Regions from separate parts of the Homo sapiens genome. Here regions 1, 3, 4 and 5 are each linked to region 2. Evidence: promoter capture Hi-C in 16 types of primary human blood cells and fetal thymus (Javierre and others, 2016). All regions are on one chromosome and are shown on one strand. Each heading gives the region's core, a stretch centred on a gene start or on the middle of the fragment in contact. The rest is flanking DNA. Distances are from core to core; before and after follow the strand shown.

Region 1 (3,086 bases), core at 156-2,655, 66 kb after region 2:
TTATATTCACTTCCTGTTCCTGCCCCAGAGGAATAGGAGGTGGCCCAGGGGCCTGGAGGGTGATTTCCAGGCCTCTGTGGGCCACCAGGGGAGGATGTGATGCTGTGCAGGCTGACAGCACGAGTCCCTCCCTGCACCTCTCAGCTCTTTTTGTTGCCAGGGCCTCCCTGAGCACTTGAAGTTGCTGCTGCAAGAGCTGTGAGGGTTAGATCAGGCCCTGTAGCTCCCTGAGCTTCCTCAGGCAGGGCCTCCCACTGTTCTTGGTTCCCTTCCTGGGCCTGAGGACTCCCCTTACCCCTTCCACACCCACTGCTGCACCTGCCACACCCTCCTCCTGGCCTAGCCTGTGTTCTTCTCTATGGGGGTCCAGGACTACTTTCTCCATGGTGGTGGCTCATAGCCAGGGCTGCGTAAATGACCTCTAAGGGGGTTCTCTCTGCTTGCTAAGACTTCCTCCCATTTGGAGATCAACAAAGGATGAGAGCAAAGTTGGCCTCCTCCCACCTGCCATATCCCAGGCTCTGGGCTTGAGTCAGCAGAGCTTTGGTTAAGCTGCTTAAGGGAGCTGGGCTGGTGTAAGCTTCTTACTGAGAGGAGGGGGTTTGGAGGAGAGGAGGAATAGGGAAGGGGTTGTTCACCTGCCCCAGCCCCACCCATATCAGGGAAAGTCCCCTTAACATCAGCCTCACCTGATACATCTAGATGTCATGCCAGGGGCAGCTGTGGGGTGAGGGTAGGAGTATCCTCCAGAGAAGGACAGTGACTCTCCCAAGACAGAGCTGTGTGGCCCCCTTTACAGGTGGTTCTCAAAGGCAGGGTACCAGAGAAGTTGATACACTGAGTTGCAGTAGAAGAGACAGGTCAGACTGCAGGAAGTTGTTCCCATATGAGAAGAGAGGCTCCCACCAGGCTGGATACCTAATTCTCCCAAAGTCATCTAGCCAGCCTTGGCAGAGCGGAGGCCAGAATGAGGACCCTCAACTCCAGAGTGGGAGAGAGAGTGTTCAGGAGGTGGCCTTGTCCTCTACCCTTCTCTGCCCTGCCCTTCCCTGGCCCCCAGAGACCAGTAGGATGGCACTCCTTATCCCCTGTTAGATCCCCATGGCGGAGTTATGTCTCTTCCACACTGGGGGTGTACCCCAAGGGCAGGGACTGAGGTCCCTCTTTCCAGAGGGCAGTGATCCCAGGGATGAGAAGATGGTAGCTACTCTGGGGTCCCACACAAGCTGACCTGGCAGCAGGGGCTTTGCGGCCCCTTCCTTGCTCAGCTGCCTGTTTCCCCTAGACTACCTCTGCTCCCCTGAGGAGAATATCTACAAGATCGACTTTGTCAGGTTTAAGATTCGGGACATGGACTCAGGCACTGTCCTCTTTGAAATCAAGAAGCCCCCAGTCTCAGGTGAGTGGGCTGGGTGGGCCATTGATGGGGAGGCAGATAGGAGCTGCGGAGTGGGCTGCCCAGGGAATCCTTGGGCCACAGAGGAGTCCACAGAGCTGGGGCTTGGACCCCAGCATTCTCAGGAGTCTGCAGGCAGGGGGGCCCTTTCTTTTCCTTCCCATATGTTTCTGAGGCTGGACATCTTGCGAGGTCAGCCCTACCCCTTCGGTCCCTGCCAACCTGCCCTCTGCAGGGCTCTCTGGGAACTGCAGTCCTACGGGTCCCAGGCCTCAGCATCCTGTGGCCCGGGGAAGCACAGTGGCGATTGGGAACATGCAGACCTAGAACCCCTAGGTGGCACTATTTGGCCAATGGTCTGAGCCCTCAGTGTGCCCCGGAATTTCTTGGGGAGTTTAAAAAAAATCAGATAGATGGGGACCCAAGGGTAGAACCCTGGGTGGACAAGGGCCCAGCCTGAAGCCCACTGAGCCCCAGCTGGGGTACATTGCAGAACGGTTGCCCATCAACCGGCGGGACCTGGACCCCAATGCTGGGCGCTTTGTCCGCTACCAGTTCACGCCTGCCTTCCTCCGCCTGAGGCAGGTGGGAGCCACGTGAGTCGCTGGGCTATGGGTGGTGGTGGGGGTGAGGGAGAGGGTGTGAGTGGGCCCTTCTCAGCCTCTCGTAGGGGTGGCCTGTCCTGAGCCTGGCTGGCTAGTTGACTTCAAGGACAGACTTAGCCCTGCCTCCTTTTCTTGCTCAGGGTGGAGTTCACAGTGGGAGACAAGCCTGTCAACAACTTCCGCATGATCGAGAGGCACTACTTCCGCAACCAGCTACTCAAAAGCTTCGACTTCCACTTTGGCTTCTGCATCCCCAGCAGCAAGAACACCTGCGAGCACATTTACGACTTCCCCCCTCTCTCCGAGGAGCTGAGTGCGCGGGCAGGGTCTTCTGGGAGTGGGGAAGTGGGGGCGTCTAGAGACTGAGCTGCGGGAGGGAGAGGGACTTGTGGGTCTGATCCCATTTCTCCCCACCCTGGGGCTCTTCTGTGTCTGCCACCATTCCCATATCATCCGTAGAGAAAGAGGCTGGGGATATTTCAGGCTGTTTGGCTGTCCCTGTACCCCAGTCCTGAAGCCCCTGCAGTGGCGGGACTCAAGCTCCTGACCTTTGCCCGGCCTGGCTGGGCCTCTCTTGCAGTCAGCGAGATGATCCGCCACCCGTATGAGACCCAGTCTGACAGCTTCTACTTCGTGGATGACCGGCTGGTGATGCACAATAAAGCAGACTATTCCTACAGCGGGACACCCTGACCCCACGGCTGCCCTGACCCCAGGAGGCTCCAGTTCTGGGCTGGGAGCTGTGACCTCCCCAACGCTCACCCCTCAACCCCAAGTCCTCTGCTTGGGGAGTTCTCCAGGAGCTCCGGACCCTGAGTCAATGTTGGGAGGAAGGGTACCTGGTGTCCCCAGTCAAGCCCATGAAGCCCATGCGGCCTGCTACATGGGGTGGGGTCGTAGGGAGGCTGTTTGCCTCCACGTCTAGGAAGGCCTGTGAGAGGAGCAGTCAGGACTTCCGGACAACTTAGCTGGGCCCTACTTGGGCCCAAGTTTCAGAATAGTGTTCCCCTATCAAGGCTGTGACTAGATCAGGCAGGGATCCATTCCCTGTCCCCTGCCCACTACCTTCAGGCCATTTAGAGTTG
Region 2 (2,903 bases), core at 384-2,883:
CCTCCCCCTCCTCTTACAGGGTGAGAAGAACAGTGTGGACTGGGGTGACCTTAACCTGGTGCTGCCCTGTCTGGAGTACCACAACAACACATGGACATGGCTAGACTTTGCCATGGCTGTCAAAAGGGACAGCCGCAAAGCCCTGGTTGCCCAGGTATCCCGCCAGGGCTCATGGCTGTTTGGCTAATGGGGCTGGCAGGCAGATCCTCTTTTCAGGAGCCTTTCATTTTAGAATCCATGAATAAATATCCTTGGGAAGGGGCAGGTGCATGAAGTGAGTGGCTTCTATGCCTACCCTCTCCATGACCTCACTCAGATTATTAAATTCAGTGTTTACTGAGTGTTTCGTATAGCACCATTGATTTTAGGGAACTGAGAGCTAACACAACCTAAAGTTTAGAAGGGGTTATAATTAGACTGTAAGCTTCTTGAAAGCAGAGACCATTGTATGTGAATTGCCCCATTGTGCCTTGGATGTGTTTAATAAATCTTTATTGTCTTGGTTCATTTTGATTTATTCTGCCTGCCCACTAATATTTACATTTTCTTTTACTCCTCTCCAATCTGCCAGGTAATCAAAGAGAAGCTAAGGCTGAAGTCTGCAACAGGCTCTGAGGTCCGGGGAAAGCTAGAAACTAAATCGGACCTGAACATGCAACAGCAGGAAGAGGAGGAGAAAGCCCGGCTCCTCATTGGTTTAAGTGTGGGCGACAAGAACCCTGGCAAGAAGTCCATCTTTGGCAGGCGCAAATGATTTGGCGATTCGAGTGGCTGCAGTACAGGATCTGACTCTGGCTCAGGCTCCAGGGACTTGTGGGGTGGGAGGGGCTTCCCGTTATCCACGAGGATTTGTGGGTGTCAGAGCCCATAGGCATCACTCTTCAGCACCTGGTCTGTTCGCTGCAGGGCATGGTGGACAGTAATGCTGAGTTCTGTCTCACACTGATCAGGCTCAGGGCCAGAGAGGCAACAAGAGAGCAAGACCCAGGGAATGGGCCCAGGGCAGGACCCTATTCCCTTGGGGTCAAGTGAAAGGGTAGGGGGATAGTCCTGATCAAGTGTGATAAATTTTTATAGACATATATAAATATATATATATTATATATATATTTCTAAGTGTAACTGTCCTTCCTCTGTGCCAGGAAACGGGAGGGGGCTGATCCTCTGATCCTCACTCCACTGTCATGTTTGAAAGAGGTATTGGTGTTCTGGAGTGGGGGTCAACCCCTCCCCAGTCTCTGTGCTAAGTTCACTTGGGAGGATGGCAGTAGGAGCCAGGGCTGGCCATGGGTCCCCTACCCTTCCCCGTAGGATATACCCTGGAGAATGGCAAAATGATTTAAAGAGAAAAAAAAAGATATTTTAAATTTGATGCTCATTTTTGTGTGTGTGTGTTGAGTGCATGCATTCAATCTGTGTATTCCTCCCTCATCAACCCAGAACATCCTGCAGCTGCCACTCTGAGGGTGGCCCCTTCCTTCCTCTGCCCTGAAGCTGTATCACAGAAATTTCTAGTCCTAGTGTGACTCTGGCCCCATGCTGATGGGTTTCTGCAGACTGGAAGAGGCGGGGCTCGTGTCACGCAGCATCAGGGAGAGGAATTGCTTATATAACTGGGACAGCAGATTTAGCAGAGAGAGGAGGCAGAGGCTGGGAATGGGAGCAGTAAGCTGTCGGCAGGGGCAGCACACCCAGCAGGGGGAACACACCCGGGTGGCTGTCCCTCACAAGGTAGGCTGTGGGGCTCTGGCAGCCTACTGAGGGGAGGAGAGGGAGACATGGGCTTGAGTCCTGGGAAGTTCCTGGTTAGGAGCATGGAAGTGATTACCCAATGTGGGGGTGGGGCAGGGAGGCTGTACTATGAAAGCATCACAGCCCAATACTGAGGTGCAGGCTGTACTCTTAATGCGTCATGGTGAAAATGTCCAACAATTATTTTCCTAGAGGATTTGAATTGTGCCCAGGAAATCTGGGGCTTAGCACAAAGCAAGGGTAATGGGAATTTTGCCTCATGCTCAAAAATGTACCTCTAGGGGTTGAGACTTAAGGGGAGGGAGTGCCTAGTAAGATGGGTGGAACCTGCTATGCCTCAGGAGCAGAAAGTTTAGAGTGGCTCCCTTGGTTCTCAGCAGGGTGGCAACATCCGGGGTCCCTGGGCCCGAGGCTGGAAGAGCCTCTGGACAGGTTTGGGAACCATCAGGTCAGATCTGGAAGAACTCTGGGAACTACGGGGGCACCACTATCTGCACCAGGAATCCCTAAAGCCAGCCCCAGTACTGGTAGAGAAGCCTCTGCCAGAGTGGCCAGTGCCTCAGTTCATCAACCTCTTTCTACCAGAGTTTCCCATTAGGCCCATTAGGGGGCAGCAGCAGCTGAAGGTAAGTCAGTGGAATCCCTGAGTGGGGTCTCAGTCTTTGGGAGAAGTTAAAAATGACCAGTCTCAACTGGCCTGTTCTCCATTCCTCTGTACAGATTTTAGGCCTCGTGGCTAAAGGCTCCTTTGGAACTGTCCTCAAGGTGCTAGATTGCACCCAGAAAGCTGTATTTGCAGTGAAGGTAGGGGCGTAGATACCACATTAGTCTCTGTTTCCAATCTTGATTCCAGAGAGGTTGGGAGGAATAAACAATTCAATAGCACTATCTATGAGTCATCACTACTCTCCTTTTATAGGTGGTGCCCAAGGTAAAGGTCCTACAGAGGGATACCGTGAGGCAGTGCAAAGAGGAGGTTAGCATCCAGGTATGCACAGAGTCCTGGAAAGGATTGTGGGAAGAGCTAGGCCACAGGTAGGGAAAGTACCTTTCTTGCCCACCTTCTTTTCCTGGTTCTGCCTCATCCATCTGCTTCAGCCTAGTTTAACACTAAAGTAGATCCTGGGAAAAGTATCAGCTCTCAACACAGT
Region 3 (2,792 bases), core at 159-2,658, 100 kb after region 2:
GCCACGGTGCTCACCTATTCCCAGGGATTTTTTGAAGCCATGGCTGAGTCTGATGGTGAGAACTGGCCTGACCTAGGACTTGGAGGTGGACAAGGTGGCCTAGAACCACTCAGGGCTTGACTGGAAAGCTGGACTTTTGAGAAGGAGGAACTTGTTGCCTGCTTGATCCTTCCAGGGGGCAGTGTTCAGAAAGCAGTGATCTGAGGCCTTAGACATTGGTTTCTAGAGAAGAAAGTTCCCTGAAATCCTCAGTCTGCCCAGCTGTGATAAGGGCCAAAGAATGGCTGATGAGGTGGGGCATGAGTGAAGGACCAGGAGGCTTTTGCACAGATTGTGAAGCCTTGCCTTCATCCCTCCTCAACAAGCTTCCTCCAGCTACACTGGCTGAAGGGGATGGAGAAATGGGCTGGGGTATGGGATGAAGTGGCTGACCTCTAAGCACTCATTAGCTCTGGGTCCCTGTGGCCCGGAAGTCCTACCCCTGTAATGAAGTCACCCAGGGCTGAGCCCGATGGTCCCACCCCCAGCCTCCTGTGGGCTGTGTAGGTAATTGGCTTTGGAGTTGTTGGGCTGTGGCAGTGATTGGCAGCAGAGGATTTGATCTGTGAGACCAACAGGGATGTTGGAGCTTGGTCTCACCTCCCCCGTAACCTGGCGTTATAATCTCTGGACGCCTTCACTGAGCCCAGATCCTGGCTTCCCTACAGAATCCCCCTTTTCCCTCACAGTGAGTCCTCCCGACCAAGGACTGCAGGAGGGTCCTTTCCCAGCTCTGCTCTCGGTGTGGGCTAGTCATGAGAATAAACCTTGTTCCCTCCTTTATAAAATGGAGTCCTCATCTTTGCCCTACATACCTCATCTGGCTGTCCTGGGGACCGAGTGAGAACCAGAATGTCAAAATCCTCAGAAGTTAAACCAGCACCAGCTTGTCTGGTGCCCCTGCCTCCTCCCCTGGGGTCCCAGGCCTGTAGGATTTCAGGAGTGGGATGGGGCTGAGTGAGATCTTTTTACCTTCAAACATCTGCCCTTCCTAGGGGTGTGCCCCAGGGGGATGGTCAAGAGGGCCCTCGTCCTGCTGGTGCGCTCGCTCTTTGCCTGTCCACCTGAGTGGGGGCAAAGAAATGGCCCAGGATCCCACTGTCCGTTGGGCCAGGGGCCTCTCACATTCTGTACATATCATTATCAGAACTGCTCATTAATACCAATCTATTATTAAGGATATTAATTCTGCCACCACTACTAATAATACAGATTTAGTACAAGGCAAATACATACTGGTGCACCTCCTCTCCCAATGCCATCTTGCACAGGGGATGGGCAGGTGGTTATCTCCTTGAACTTACTAAGCCTTGAAGTGAGAAGTGCACTGGGAGGCCCTCCCACCCAAGCCCCTCTTTATCTGACAGATGGGGAAACCGAGGTCCCACCAGTGGGAGAGATTGTTCCCTGCTATGCAGGCATCTGTGCGCTGCTCCTTCCTCCAGGTGCTGGGGCTATGGGAAGCAGCTCTCAGCACCTAATCATGTCCCTGGAGAAGGGGCAGGCTCTGGGGGCATTTTCCTGAGCCCATCCAGCTCCTTGGCTCCAGCTGCCATCTTTCTCCCTTGACCACCCTCAGATCATACTGGATTTGGCATTGCCACCCCAAATAATTTTTTCTCCAAAACCCTTCCCACTTTAGGCAGATTGACCACGCTTGCGGGAAGGCACAGAGAAGCAGAGCCACCTCTATGAAGCCACATGCTCTTGGTGCCCAACGTGGGCTCCAGGAACCCTCTCCAGAGGAAGCTGGGGACACTGCCCCCACTGACAGTGAAGACTGCTGTGGTCACTCTGGGCCTGCGTGGAGGAGGGGTGCTAAGTGCAGAGTCTGATAATTGGGTTTTCTGATCACAGCGATGTGTGTGTGTGTGTGTGTGTGTGTGTGTGTGTGCGTGTGTGTGCGTGTGTGTGTGTGTCCTTCCTCATGTACATTCTATGCCTTCCGAGACTGATGGGCTGGTGCAGTCCGGGACATGGCTATGGAATTTACAAGTGTAAGTGGGACCTCCAACTGTCTCCAGGCAATCTGGTTCCAGGGATGCACCCCATTCTCATTCTGTGTGTGTGCGTGCGCGTGTGTCTGTGTGTGTCTCTGTGTGTGTCTCTCTGTATGTATATATGTATGCGTGTGTGCATGTATGTATCTCTGTGCATGTGTCTGGGTGTGTGTCTCTGTGTGTGTGTGTCTCTGTGTGTATGTGTGTCTCTGTGCTGTAGTTTGTCAGAGGCAGTGGGGGGAGCCCTGAAGGCCCCGGAGGGTGTATGAGGGCAGGATTTGGAGCTGACTGACAGTGCATCCTCCTGTGAGCATGGGGTGGAGGGCGAGGGTCAGACCTTGCAGTGGGCTTTCTGTTGCATTCTGGAAGGGGATGGGAGGATCTGGAGGGTTGCCTACCCCTGGAAGCTTCTAGAGTAGCTGTGAGAGCACAGGTTCCCTTTTCTCCATGACTCACAGCTGGCTCTCCAGTCAAGTTCCCCAAGAGATCACGATTCAGCGAATTCTCTCCCTGGCCCCATTAATCTGAGCTGACTAAGCAAGGGCCACAGGCAGGGTAGAGACCCGGGGATGCGCACTCCTAATCAACCCTAAAAATCCCTGCTCCTGCTTCCATGCCCCCTCTTCCTTGGCCCGCCATGCCTGATAGGATCAGTTACGCTCCCAGCCCCCTGAGAAAGCCTGCCCCGGCCCCGCTTTGGGGCTCTATGAGGGTGTCTCTCCATCCCCGCTTCACTGCCACATGCCCGCAGTG
Region 4 (2,766 bases), core at 25-2,524, 120 kb after region 2:
GCCCAAGGTGGCTCAAGAGCCTGGAGAAGGATGGAAACTCAGGGGTCCTCTTCAGGAAAAGGAAAAGAGGAGGTGCAAAGACAGGATACTCTGCCCAGCAGGCAGAACCCCTGGTGGGGCAGGCAGGCGGGCTGCCTGGAGGAGGTGTTTCTGAGGGCCAGCTCACCATGGAGGCTAGGATGGGCAGGAAGATCGTAGTGGTGGCCACGTTGCTAGTGCACTCGGTGAAGGTGGCCACCAGGAGGGAGAGGATGATGGCAATGGCTGGAGCTGGCACACTCTGCAGTGGGGTCAGCTTGTTTCCCAGCCACTCTGACAGGCCCGATCGCTGTGGGCAGAGGAGGATGGCATGTGAGAGGCAAGGCTGCCTGGGCCCCCAAGTCTTCTGCCGAGGCTCTATGAGGCTCCTGCTCCTGCTAACATCTCCCTGGTATTCAGAGTCAAAGACAGCTCTAAAGGGATGATAGGACCCAGCTAAGACCAAGGGGTGCCCTTTCCTGCTCTTGAAGAACAGCTGGGTGTGGGAAGAAGGGGCAGATGAGAAATTAGGAGGGGGCCAAAGGGCCTTCTTGGGAAATTTGGGGCTTGGTGGGAGCAAAAATCTTTGACCGCACTGACTCCTGCCTTCCTGACCTCTCTCAGGAGGTCCCTGGACAACCTTAGCCCTCTTCCTGCCCCTTCCAGTCCAGTGGCTTGGGGCAGAGGGAACCTTGCTCCTGGCAGGGAGGGAAAGTTGGGGGAGGACCCTGACAGAGGCTGCAAGAGGCTAATGGGAGGACAGGGACAGTCCACAGGGTCAGAAGAGCTCCGAGGTCTTGCCTTCCCACGTCTGGAATGCCAGGCTGTAAGGTGGGACTTAATCTCGCTCAGTGGGGCCAGCGCCTAGCACAGGACTGGGCACAGTCAGTGGATGAACATGCCACAGACCCAGGAGTCCCCTGCACCGATCCCTGACCTGGGCAGCCACCTTCTGTTTGAGCCAGAACACGGAGGCCCAGGGATGCCGTGTCAGGGATTTCCCTCTTTTGGATGGAGGCTCTGGGGAAAGATGTTCTGGTCCCCAGAGCCTGGGTGGGTGTGATCATGGTGCCCCCTGGTGGCTGCGGAGGGCAGACCGCGTCAACACAACCCCCAATTACTTTGGTGCTGATGCTACTGTGTGCTCTGGCAGCGGGCAAAGGGCTGGGGTGGGATGGCATTTGTCTCTGAGAACAGGCTCTGCCCACCAGAGAATCCTGCCTTCCCTTGGACTTTGAGAACTGAACAAAGAGGTCCCTAGGGCTTGTGTTTCTTCCTCCCACATGAGGGCTCTAACCTAAGTCTTCCCAGCTGCTGCAAAGGCTCTGCCTACCCGAGAGGCTCCTACGTGGGGACCAGGTCTCCCCTCTGTGGGACAGAAGCAGGGCCCCCTCTCTCCCTGCCACAGAGACACCCTCACACAGGCTGAGGAGGGGGCTGGGGGCCTCTCACCTCACTGCCCTTGGCCAGGGCATAGCCACCACCCAGCAATAACACGATATTCCACGGCATCTTCTGGTTCACCGTCTTCCAGTCGAGGAGGCCAAGAGGGGCCTTCAGCTTCCCTGGGTTTTCTACTTCCCAAGCAGAGAAGGATGGGTCACCAAAGAACAAACAGGCCTTTCCCCTCTCCATTTGCGGGCTCCCTGTGTGGGTCCCTTTTGGAGCTTAACGCGTGCAGGAGGGGACCCTCAGTTCTGCAACATCTCAACTTTGTCTCCGAGTCCCTGTGCCCTTGGCAAGTCGCTCCAGCCTTTCTGGGCTTTGCCTACTCCTGCCAAGTGTGGTGGAAGGTACATTACATACTTGAAGGCAGGGGCTGCCCGGAGACCCTTCCCTGCCCCAGTCCAGGTGCTTACCTGGGTCCTGGGTCAGCCCTGGGAACTTGGAGGGTATGATGAACATAATTATGCCGATGAAGATGGCCACTGTCCCATCGGACACCATGCTGTTGGTGGAGGGGGCGCGGGGAGGGCTGGGTTAGCCGCTTGGGGTTGCTCAGGGCCACAGGGTGGAGGGTGGTGGAGATGAGCCTCTCCCATAGACAAGCCTGGGGAACCTTCATCCCCCACCAAGTGTTACCTCCTGTTCTGCAATGGGGGCCCTATACCCTTCCCTCCTTCCCGAGCATGTGAGCCCCAGATGTGTCCTCCTCCCAACCCCTGCAACTCTCACCTCTCCCCCTTGGCATTGGGAAAAGCCAAATTGCCCCAGCCAAGAAAAAAGCCCGGCTCCCGGGTGAACCAGAGCAGCACCAGGATGACGAATAGGATGCTGATGGCCTTTTCTGCAAAGGTCATGGGGCCCAGCAGCCTGTGCTCGGTCTGGATGACGCAGTAGGCTGCCTGCTGTTGCTCCTGCATCTTTTCCCCAATGCCAAAGTTCTTCCGGAAGCTGCAGGCAGAGGGACGGGGCAGCTCGTGGGGGGCCTGCTCCAGCAGGGAGCAAGGGGCTCTGAGTGCCTACCATCTAAAGGCTGAGGCCCACAGAGGGCATCTCAGGGTCACTACACTCAGGCCCCAGCTCCGCCTGAGGTTCTGGAGGAGGAGCAGAAGACTTTTAGAGGCCATAGTTCTTGCTTATTCTCCATGCTTGGCCCTGCCCCATTGAGCCCCTTTTCCTCCAGGGGTTCTATGGTGCTGAACCCTCCCTTGCCCAGGGTGAGGAGGACCTAGCAGCTCAGACCCTGGGACTTCTTCCTGCCCTGGCTCACAGCTCTTCTCCTCCAACAGCCTTCGGGAAGTCCTC
Region 5 (3,083 bases), core at 97-2,596, 90 kb before region 2:
GACTGCAGGGGGCTTGATAAGGGTCTCCTGTGTATCAGACATGGAACCAGACACTTTGCTGGGACATGGGGTTACTCTGCGGCCAAGTTACTACTACTGAAGCAGAAACACTTCTTGGGGTGGACAGCTGGTGGTGGCAGGTGAATTTGGTGAGGTTTTAGCTTGAGCTGTGGGAAGACCCAGAGGTCTGCGGCTGCTACTGATGACCCAGACTCCTGCCCCCTCAGGTGACTGCAAGGAGCCTGACAAGTGCTGCTGGAGACACAAGCAGTGCACTGGGCACATCATCTACCCTTTCGCCTCTGACTGTGTCCGCCACAGCCTGCACCTACACTCTGTCAACCACTGCAACTGTAATTCTAGGTGAGGGCCCGCCCCCTTGGGGGACCCATGGCAGAGCCAGGTCCGAACTTTCATTGTGGTCTCCCCTTCAACCTTTGGTTTGCCTCTTCAGCTTTGAATTGGTGCTGCCAGCCCAGTCCCAGCTCTGCACACCTTGCTCTGCTCTAAGAGAAATGGGGAGGAGGTCTGTTGGCCTGAGGCAGGCCCAGCGGAAGCCCACTGTCCCTCAGGCTTCTGGCTCTGGGTCCCTGGGGGAGTGATGGGAGCCAGGCTGAGAGTCCCATGTGTGGCAGGCTGAAGGACTCTTCAGAGGATAGCAGCAGCTCCCGGGGCGCGGGCCCAACCTGCTCCCATGTCATCGAGTCCCCTTGCTTTGAGCTCACACCGGAGGAGGAGCATGTGGAGCGATTCCGGTATGGCTGGTGAGTGAGCCCCGGTGGGCTGATGGGGAAGGGGCCTCTACAGGGCACTGCCCCCCACTCTCTGTCAAACTTCCCCCGTTGTCCCTTCTCCCAGGTGCAAAAGCTACAGACCTGTCTCTGTGGCAGTGATCCACCATCCACTCTACCATGAGTGTGGGGCAGATGATCTAAATGAAGAAGAGGAAGAGGAGGAGGAGGAAAGCAAGCCCCCCATCCCGACACAGGTGGGGCCCGCCACCGCCTCCCCTGACCTAGGCACCAGCATGGCCACTGGTACCCCTGACTCCACAGCGCCCATCACCATCTGGCGCTCTGAGAGCCCCACAGGGAAGGGTCAGGGCAGCAAGGTGATCAAGAAGGTAAAGAAGAAAAAGGAAAAAGAGAAAGACAAGGAGGAGATGGATGAGAAGGCAAAGCTGAAGAAAAAAGCCAAGAAAGGCCAGTTGACTAAGAAGAAAAGCCCGGTTAAATTGGAGCCTTCCCCGCCAGACGTGAGCCGATCATTAAGCGCAAGACAGCTGGCCAGGATGTCCGAGTCCAGCCCAGAAAGCCGGGAAGAGCTGGAGAGCGAGGACAGTTACAATGGCCGGGGGCAGGGAGAACTGTCCAGCGAGGATATTGTGGAATCATCATCGCCCAGGAAGAGAGAGAACACAGTCCAGGCCAAAAAGACAGGGGCAAAGCCCTCACAAGCCAGGAAGGTAAACAAGAGAAAATCTCCCCCAGGATCAAACCCCAACCTCAGTTGAGGCCAGGGTGGTCAGGGTGCAGAATAAATGCCATCGAGCCTGTGGCTGGCCCTCTGCTGCTGTTCTCTCCCTCCAACCTGGCTGTTTCTTGCGGGGCAAGGGGTGGGCTCAGGGCTGCAGGGGTTTCTCAAAGGCAATCCAGCTTTCACAAAGGAAGCCCATGGGAAGGCAGGTGGGAGGGAAAGGAAGGGGCACAGCCCTATTTCTTCCTACCTGCTAGGACAAGGTGGAAGAGTGTATCTGGGGTGGGAAGGAGGGCTTCCCCTCTCTGCTGCGAGAGACTGGTCTGTGTGAAATCCACTTCTGGGACAGGCAGTACTGTCTGCAGCGATACCCCCAATAAACGGAACTTTTTAACCCACTCTGTGCCACTGTGCCTGGCCTTTCCCTCCTCTAAGTGGCTCTGCAGAAGGTGCTCGTGGTACTACCAGAGACTGACCTTCCCAGCTGGTGGTCTAGCTCCTCCCTTGTAGCCCTTTTGTGCTGAAGGGAGCTGACTTGAGTTCCTGGCAGAGCTGGCCCCTTCCCCCAGATCTTGATGAAGAAAAACAAGGGGAGGGAGTGTGCCACGTCTGGGCAGCAGTGGCCTTTTCTGACTTCTCTGCTGAGCCCCAAGCAAAGGAAAGGGAGCCAGAGGCCCCACTCTCCCAGCATTGACTCACAGAGCTGTGAGACGAAGCCCTTGTGCAGAAACAGGGATGGCAGGAGTTCAGAACAAAAAATGCAGTGGGGCAGGGACAAAGGGCCAGGGCCAGTGTGTTGGAGGGGAGCAGGTGAGCAGGGCCCCATCCTGGGGCAGGAACACCTTACTGCTGAGAGCTTGCAAGAGACCAAGGCCCAGCTGGGAAAAGGGAAGAGATGAACGGCAGAGGCTCAAGTTGAGAAATCCAGATTTACTTGTGGCCTTTCTCCAGGGTGCCAGAGAAGACCAGCAGGCATGGGCGGATGGGGCAGCTGTGCTGTGGGTGAGTGAGTGGGTGTAATAATACCGGGTAACATTTGCGACGTACCAGGCGTTGGGCCAAGGAGCTTGCACACGCTGCCTTGGTCCTCACAGCAGCTGATGAGGCAGGTATCACTATCTCCATGTTACAGGTAAGAAAGCCAGCTGAAAGGCAGCAGGAACTGGCACAGGGTCACCCGGCTGGGAAGTAGAGCAGGGATGTGCCCCAGGCAGTCTGATGTAGAAGCTGCCTCTAGTCTATGAATCTTTGCCTCTGATGGATCAGAAGAGGGAGTCAGGGGAGTCCTTGGAGCTCCAAACACTGCTTTGAAAGCCACCCCTCAAAGAGCTGGAGAGTTGGAGAGAGAGGCTTTGGCAAGAGCTCAATAGAAACACTGTTTATTCAAATGACAGGCAGGAAGCGGTGGCAGCAGCAGGGGGGAAAGGGCAGCCAGGCAGGGGCTGGGCAGTGCTTCCCTGTGTCCCCTGCAATCCTGCTTGGACAGCCACCCGGCTGTTGGCATCAGGGTCAGAAATACTTTCCCTCCTCTCCCTCCTGCCCCAAACTGAATAAATAGCATCCCTCTCCCCACGAGAGCTAGGGGAGACTCATGTGCTGAGTTTGGT

What was found. The method cuts DNA at HindIII sites, captures the fragments that hold promoters and counts their contacts. A CHiCAGO score of 5 or more calls a contact.
Region 1: a fragment that was not itself captured here is called in contact with the fragment with the promoter of RSKR in region 2 in 3 of 17 cell types (megakaryocytes, total B cells and naive B cells); the score reaches 6.0 in megakaryocytes.
Region 3: a contact is called between a fragment that was not itself captured here and the fragment with the promoter of RSKR in region 2, in 1 of 17 cell types (naive B cells). The highest score is 6.7, in naive B cells.
Region 4: a contact is called between a fragment that was not itself captured here and the fragment with the promoter of RSKR in region 2, in 14 of 17 cell types (naive B cells, total B cells, naive CD4 T cells and 11 more). The highest score is 18.0, in naive B cells.
Region 5: a contact is called between a fragment that was not itself captured here and the fragment with the promoter of RSKR in region 2, in 2 of 17 cell types (M1 macrophages and endothelial precursors). The highest score is 6.7, in M1 macrophages.

The regions. Positions count from the first base shown.
Region 1 is chr17:28,546,905-28,549,990 of GRCh38, reverse strand. UNC119 (unc-119 lipid binding chaperone) reads left to right here. Exons shown (of 5, transcript NM_005148.4): 2 at 1,286-1,399; 3 at 1,890-1,992; 4 at 2,142-2,314; 5 at 2,582-3,086. The coding sequence ends at 2,694. Among named protein-coding and RNA genes, the nearest start is that of UNC119, 4.2 kb to the left of the region's middle. RefSeq lists enhancers at 1,383-2,219, 2,203-2,252, 2,273-2,382, 2,220-3,057. The HindIII fragment of the contact is 1,645 bases long and covers 583-2,227 here.
Region 2 is chr17:28,612,915-28,615,817 of GRCh38, reverse strand. RSKR (ribosomal protein S6 kinase related) reads left to right here and starts at 1,633. Exons shown (of 12, transcript NM_001174103.2): 1 at 1,633-1,731; 2 at 2,130-2,378; 3 at 2,473-2,556; 4 at 2,672-2,740. The coding sequence starts at 1,657. BLTP2 (bridge-like lipid transfer protein family member 2) reads left to right here. Exons shown (of 39, transcript NM_014680.5): 38 at 20-154; 39 at 572-1,372. The coding sequence ends at 754. All of the region lies in intron 2 of SPAG5-AS1 (SPAG5 antisense RNA 1), which reads right to left. The HindIII fragment of the contact is 13,614 bases long and covers 427-2,903 here.
Region 3 is chr17:28,509,722-28,512,513 of GRCh38, reverse strand. The region is part of intron 1 of FOXN1 (forkhead box N1); the gene reads right to left. Among named protein-coding and RNA genes, the nearest start is that of FOXN1, 4.8 kb to the right of the region's middle. The HindIII fragment of the contact is 2,081 bases long and covers 368-2,448 here.
Region 4 is chr17:28,493,217-28,495,982 of GRCh38, reverse strand. It overlaps SLC13A2 (solute carrier family 13 member 2), which reads right to left. Exons shown (of 12, transcript NM_003984.4): 7 at 2,194-2,412; 8 at 1,878-1,966; 9 at 1,471-1,592; 10 at 167-328. Among named protein-coding and RNA genes, the nearest start is that of FOXN1, 12 kb to the left of the region's middle. RefSeq lists an enhancer at 2,765-2,766. The HindIII fragment of the contact is 7,617 bases long and covers 1-2,766 here.
Region 5 is chr17:28,701,988-28,705,070 of GRCh38, reverse strand. SUPT6H (SPT6 homolog, histone chaperone and transcription elongation factor) reads right to left here. Exons shown (of 37, transcript NM_003170.5): 37 at 2,392-3,083. PROCA1 (protein interacting with cyclin A1) reads left to right here. Exons shown (of 5, transcript NM_001366301.1): 3 at 228-363; 4 at 636-764; 5 at 859-1,874. The coding sequence ends at 1,513. Among named protein-coding and RNA genes, the nearest start is that of PROCA1, 8.4 kb to the left of the region's middle. The HindIII fragment of the contact is 5,760 bases long and covers 1-3,083 here.